Regions from separate parts of the Homo sapiens genome. Here region 1 is linked to region 2. The links are contacts of gene promoters, found by promoter capture Hi-C in blood cells and fetal thymus (Javierre and others, 2016). All regions are on one chromosome and are shown on one strand. Each heading gives the region's core, a stretch centred on a gene start or on the middle of the fragment in contact. The rest is flanking DNA. Distances are from core to core; before and after follow the strand shown. Region 1 has its middle 170 kb from the start of ADGRG6. Region 2 holds the start of AIG1 (androgen induced 1).

What was found. The method cuts DNA at HindIII sites, captures the fragments that hold promoters and counts their contacts. A CHiCAGO score of 5 or more calls a contact.
Region 1: a contact is called between a fragment that was not itself captured here and the fragment with the promoter of AIG1 in region 2, in 1 of 17 cell types (activated CD4 T cells). The highest score is 6.7, in activated CD4 T cells.

What each region holds. Positions count from the first base shown.
Region 1 is chr6:142,470,623-142,473,584 of GRCh38, forward strand. No RefSeq gene overlaps it. Among named protein-coding and RNA genes, the nearest start is that of ADGRG6, 170 kb to the left of the region's middle. The HindIII fragment of the contact is 2,217 bases long and covers 273-2,489 here.
Region 2 is chr6:143,059,408-143,062,270 of GRCh38, forward strand. AIG1 (androgen induced 1) reads left to right here and starts at 1,482. Exons shown (of 6, transcript NM_016108.4): 1 at 1,482-1,659. The coding sequence starts at 1,519. RefSeq lists enhancers at 478-1,416, 1,242-1,371, 1,972-2,021 and silencers at 1,372-1,461, 1,712-1,781. The HindIII fragment of the contact is 5,617 bases long and covers 1-2,863 here.

The DNA.
Region 1 (2,962 bases), core at 131-2,630, 590 kb before region 2:
GTTGGGTGAAGTTTAAGTTACTCTACACTTCAGTTTGACATTTCAGTTTGACCACATGTTAGATAAAATAATACAGAGTGGCAAACCAATAAATAGTGACTATATGTGTGTATATTTGTTTTATATAAATATATATATATATTTAATTGCAATAAGAATACTTAACAAGAGATCTACCCTCAACAAATTTTTAGGTATACAATACATAATTGTTGACCACAGGTACTGTGTTGTACAGCAGATCTTTAGAGCTTATGCATCTTGCTGACTGAAGCTTTACTAACTGCCCATTTCCCTCTCCCCATATCTCCCAGAAAACATCATTTGATTCTATGAATTTTACTATTTTAGATAATTCAGATAAGTAGAATCATGCACTATTTGTCTTTCTGTGACTGGCTTATTTCACTTAGCATAATGTCCTCAAGGTTCCTCCATGTTTTCTCATATTGCAGAATTTCCTTTTTTTAAAGGGTGAATAGTATTGCATTGTATGAACATGCATTTTCTTTATACATTCATCTGCCAATGAATATTTACATTGTTTCCACATTTTTGCTATTGTGAATAATGTTGCAATGAATATGGAAGTGGAAACATCTCCTCAAGATCCTGATTTCCATTCTTTTGGATAGAAACCCAGGAGTGGAATTGCTAGATCAAATGGCACTTCTATTTTTAATTCTTTGAGGAACCTCCATAACGTTTCCCATGGTGACTGCACCGTTTTATATTCCCACCAACAGTGTGTGTTTCAATTTCTCCACATCCTTACCAACACTTATTGTCTTTTGGTTTTTAGGTTGTTATAATAGCGATCTTCACAGTTCTGAGCTGATACCTCATTGTAGTTTTGATTAGCATTTCCCTGATGATTAGAGATGGTGAGCATTTTTTTTCCATATAACTGTTGGCTGTATTTATGTCTTTTTTGGCGAAATATCTATTCAAGTTTTTAGCTCAGTTTGAATTGGGTTATTAGTTTTTTCACTCTTGAGTTATAGAAGTTTCTTATATATTTTGGAGATTAAACCCTTATCAGATAAATGGTTTACAAATATTTTATCCCATTTTGTAGGTTGCCTTTTCACTCTGTTGATTGCTTCCTTTGCTGGGTAGGAGCTTTTTAGTTTAATGTAGTTCCACTTGTTAATTTTTGCTTTTGTTGCCTGTGGTTTTGTTGTCATATCCATGAAATCATTGTCAAGATTAAAGTCTTAGCCAGAGCAATTAGGCAAGAAAAAAATAAAAAGGCATCAACATCAGCAACAAAGAAGTAAAAGTGCCCTGGTTTGCAAATGACATGATCTTATATAGAGAAAACCTTGAGGACTCCATAAAAAACTGTCTAATAAATGAATTCAATAAGTTGCAGTATACAAAATCAACATACAAATATCTGACCACGTGCAGTGGCTCATGCCTGTAATCCCAGCACTTTGGGAGGCTGAAGCGGGAGGATCCCTTGAGGCCAGGAGTTCAAGACCAGCCTGGGCCACAAAGCAAAACCCTTTCTCTACAAAATAAACATAAAATATTAGCCAGGCATGGTGACACAGGCCTATAGTCCCAGCTACTCAGGAGGCTGAGGCAAGAGGATTGATGGAGCTTAGGAGTTTGAGGCTGCAGTGAGCTTTGATTGTGCCACTGCACTGAAGCCTTGGCAACAGAGTGAGACCCTGTTTCTAAAAATATAAATAAAAATTAAAAATAAAAAAAAATTAAAAATTATCCTTCCAGTAAGAAATAGCTTATGGTAGAAGAAAAAAAATCAGTTGCTTTTCTGTACATTAACAATGAACCATCTGAAAAGGAAATTACAAAAACAATCCATTTTCATTATCACCAAAAAGAATAAATATCTAGGAATAAACTTAGCTGAGGAGATGAAATGGATGTATACTGAAAACTATAGAACATGAATGAAAGAAGCTAAGACACAAACAAATGGAAAGACAGCCTGCATTAGAAGAGCTACTATTATTGTTAAAATGTCCATACTACCCAAAGCAATCTACCAACTCAGTGTAATCCCTAACAAAATCTAAATGGCATTTTTATAGCAATAGAAAATACAATTTTAAAATTCATGTAGAGCCATAAAAGACCATGAATAGCCAAATCAATCTTGAGAAAGGACAAAACTGGAGGCATCACATTTCCTGATTTCAAAATACAAATCTAGAGTAATCAAAACATTATGGTACTGACATAAAGACGGACATACAGATGAACAAAACAGAATAGAGAACCCAGAAATACACCCACACACCATGGTCAGCTGATCTTCACAAGCATTCCAAGAACATACAACAGGAGAAGGATAGTCTCTTCAACAAATGGAAATTGGAAAACTGGATATCCACATGCAATCAACTGAAATTAAACCCTTATCTTAAACCATACATAAAAATTAACTAAAAATAGATTAAAGGCTTAAAACATAAGACATGAATTTTTAAAACTCCTAGAAGAAAACATAAAGGAAAAGCTTCATGACTTTGTCGTTATATTGACTTAACATATGTAGTCATAACAGTGAAGTTGAATTTTCAGAAACTTCACGCTGAAGCTATCATTGATGTGATTCATTTCAATTTACCCTGGTTTTTTAAGCATCTACTATATGCAATGATCTGGGCACTGCAGGGGATCCACTGCGGAATAGAATCAACCCCACACCTTAATAATGTCATGGTCTAGTGGTGAAAGCAGGTAATGACAATACAAGGTGATTAGAACCATAATATCAAGGAGCTTTGGATATGATATTTGATGGTATTAAGGCATTATTAATTTTGTGATGTGTGATAATAGCATGGTGATTATGTTAAAACAACCCTTATTGATTAAAGACTCAATTCATTTTCTATTGCCACCATAACAAATTACCACAAAACTGACGACTTAGAACAGCACAAATTTATTCTCCTAAAGTTCTGAAAGTCGGAAGTTTGAAAGA
Region 2 (2,863 bases), core at 232-2,731:
AAGGTAGGTAGATCTTCAATAGATCTACTCTTTTTTATTTTTATTTTTTTGGCAGTTTATAACCATGTACCAAGGATGCACAATTAAAAAAATAAAGCCAACTTTTACATTAAGATTTAACCAAAAATCATCAATAATACATCGTTTTAATGCTAGTAGAATCTTCTTCTGACATCAGTTCTATTAGCATAATTATAATGCCAATTAAAAAAATCTAGTGGGTCTCTTCATTTTAGTTTAGAGCTTGATTGGAAACATTCAGGAAAACATCCATGGCTTGCTTGCTACTTTCTCTTTACCTCTAGCACTATGCTTCTCCCCACCAGCCCTCCCTCCACATCCTCTGACTCAGAGACTATTTGAAGAGGACACCTGTTTTAAATGGATCCACAGGAAATACCTATGTTGCCTTTTCATAATCCGAACCTGCAACTGGTTGGCTGAAATGAAAATGTTGCCCACAGACTGATGCAACTTCAGTGTGACAACATTTACTGGAAGGCAGGAGGGACTCCAGTTTATATTTATTTTCCTTCCATTAAGCCCTGGTAGTGTAGTGTAAGAAAAAAGTAAGGGCAAAACCAGTTTAACAACCAGATGATTAGTATTAAATTACACGCAGGGGTTTTACATCCAAAATTGGAATTTTTTAAAGCTGAATGCAATCTTGTGGCAGAAAGTTATTTGAAAATCCTTTCTTTATAGCTTTTTATCTATAAACCTCTTGTCCAAAGTTCATATTCTAGCTGATGTTATATACTGATATGACATTATTCAATCTGTCATGGAAAAGTGCTGCGTAGCCTACCCATTGAAAGCAGAATTGAGAGAGTTTCCTAGTGATTGACAGTCGTTTGTCAACACTGAAAACCTTATTGCCCCAAAATACTGAAAGTCACTCGCGGCTGCCTGTGCTCGGGTTTACACCCCACGTTCACACCCCCACCGGATCCCTCCGCACGGGGCACCAGCTCTCGGCCAACTGCAACTACCCCAGGAAGCGTCACCGCGATTCCGGGGCGGGAACATTTGTGGACACTGGGGTCCACTCCTTCAGTCTAGGTTCCCCGCCCCCTCGCCCGGCCCGGCGCCCACTAGCCACAGGGCCCGCTTCCCCCTGGAGATCAGCGCGCACTTCCCGAGCCCTCGTAGCACTCAGAGGTCGCATCCACACCTGGGATGCCTAGGGGGCGCCTCCTGGCCGGGTGTCCCGGGACCCTGCGAACGCAGGAGCAGAATGACGAAGGTGACGAAAGAGATGACGACACGCCGCCTGCCAGGCCGCGGCCGGCAGTGGAGAGCGTCCGCAAACCGCGCCCGGCCAGTACAGGTCACCCGGGCGCTCGCGGCCGCGCCAGTCCCCGGGGGCGCGCGCCCCGCCCCCGCCCCCGCCCCCGCCCCGCCCCGCCCCGCGCCCGCGCCCGCGCCCGGGTTCCCACGGCGCCCGCCCCCGCGCGCCCGGCGCCTCCCTCACGCCCGCCCTCCTTGCCGCCCAGCCGGTCCAGGCCTCTGGCGAACATGGCGCTTGTCCCCTGCCAGGTGCTGCGGATGGCAATCCTGCTGTCTTACTGCTCTATCCTGTGTAACTACAAGGCCATCGAAATGCCCTCACACCAGACCTACGGAGGGAGCTGGAAATTCCTGACGTTCATTGATCTGGTAAGGCCGTCCCCTCCCCCTGCTCGCCCCGCACCCCGTGCCTGTGTGTGCGTGTGTGTGTGTGTGTGTGTGTGTGTGTGTGGATGCGCGAGCACCTGCGCACGTGCGCGCCTCCAGCATCCACCCGTGTCCTCGCCTCTTCCCCAGTGATTGCGTGTGAAGGCCTGGCTGCCCCCGCAGCGGCACCTTCTGAACCACTCACCGTTACCTGGTAGCTGGGTACCCTTACCTGGCAACTGGGGGACAAATGGAGGTGGGGCGCAGCCAGGTGGTGGGCTCTTTGGAGGGGGACACCGAACTGCTTCTAAGAGGTGACACGGGAAGAATCTTCAACAAAAGCATCGGACCTGATCCTGAATGGCCTGAGACCCATTCGCCCTCAAGGTGCTTTTCAGAGCACCCACCGTGGGATGAACTTGTTGCAACTGAAGGAAACTGGGTATTGTCTAGTGATTTGGAACTTCACCTGAAAGAACCAAATCCTTCTCATAAGGGAGAGAAAGCACCTAATAAAGTTGTCTTCTTTGCATCTGTTTTTTTCCCCCATTGTCAATAATTTACTTTCAACCTTTACCCCGTACATATTAGGAGACAGAGATGTTCAAAGTGCATTTCCAAGGTGACTGTACACACTTCTCTGTCTTCCCATGTACAAATTTACAGTAGTTTGCATAAGCAGCTCCTCTGTTGGCACAATATGATAATCTTGACAGGTGCAGGTTATTATTAGTATATCATTTTGAAAGTTTTTCTATTTCTGGCACTAAAAGGCCCTCTTCAACCTCCCTGGAGAACAGAACATGGGCATAAGGCCCAATAATGAACTCATGGATGGACCTAGGAATTTCAGGGTAAAGGTGACTAAGACACACGCTAAAAGATTATTAGGAAGAGGCTTAAAACAAAAGCAATGAAGTTCTAAAGCACTCAGAGAAATTGTAGAACCAATTCCTGGGACTCCCTGAACTGTTTATCCAAGACTATACAGTTGGTTGGCTACACCAGCAAGATTATAATCTCTTGTTGACCCTCCATTCTGATGAAGAGAACATGATACCTGTTTTAAAAATTTCCAAAGGCTTAGGATGCCTCAAAGAAATGCAGAGAGGCTTTTGGTTTAAAAATAACACCTTATATTTGCATTATATTAGATACTTTCAGAGTGGAATTTCAATTCTGTTGCCCAGCAGTCTCCAAACTGTGC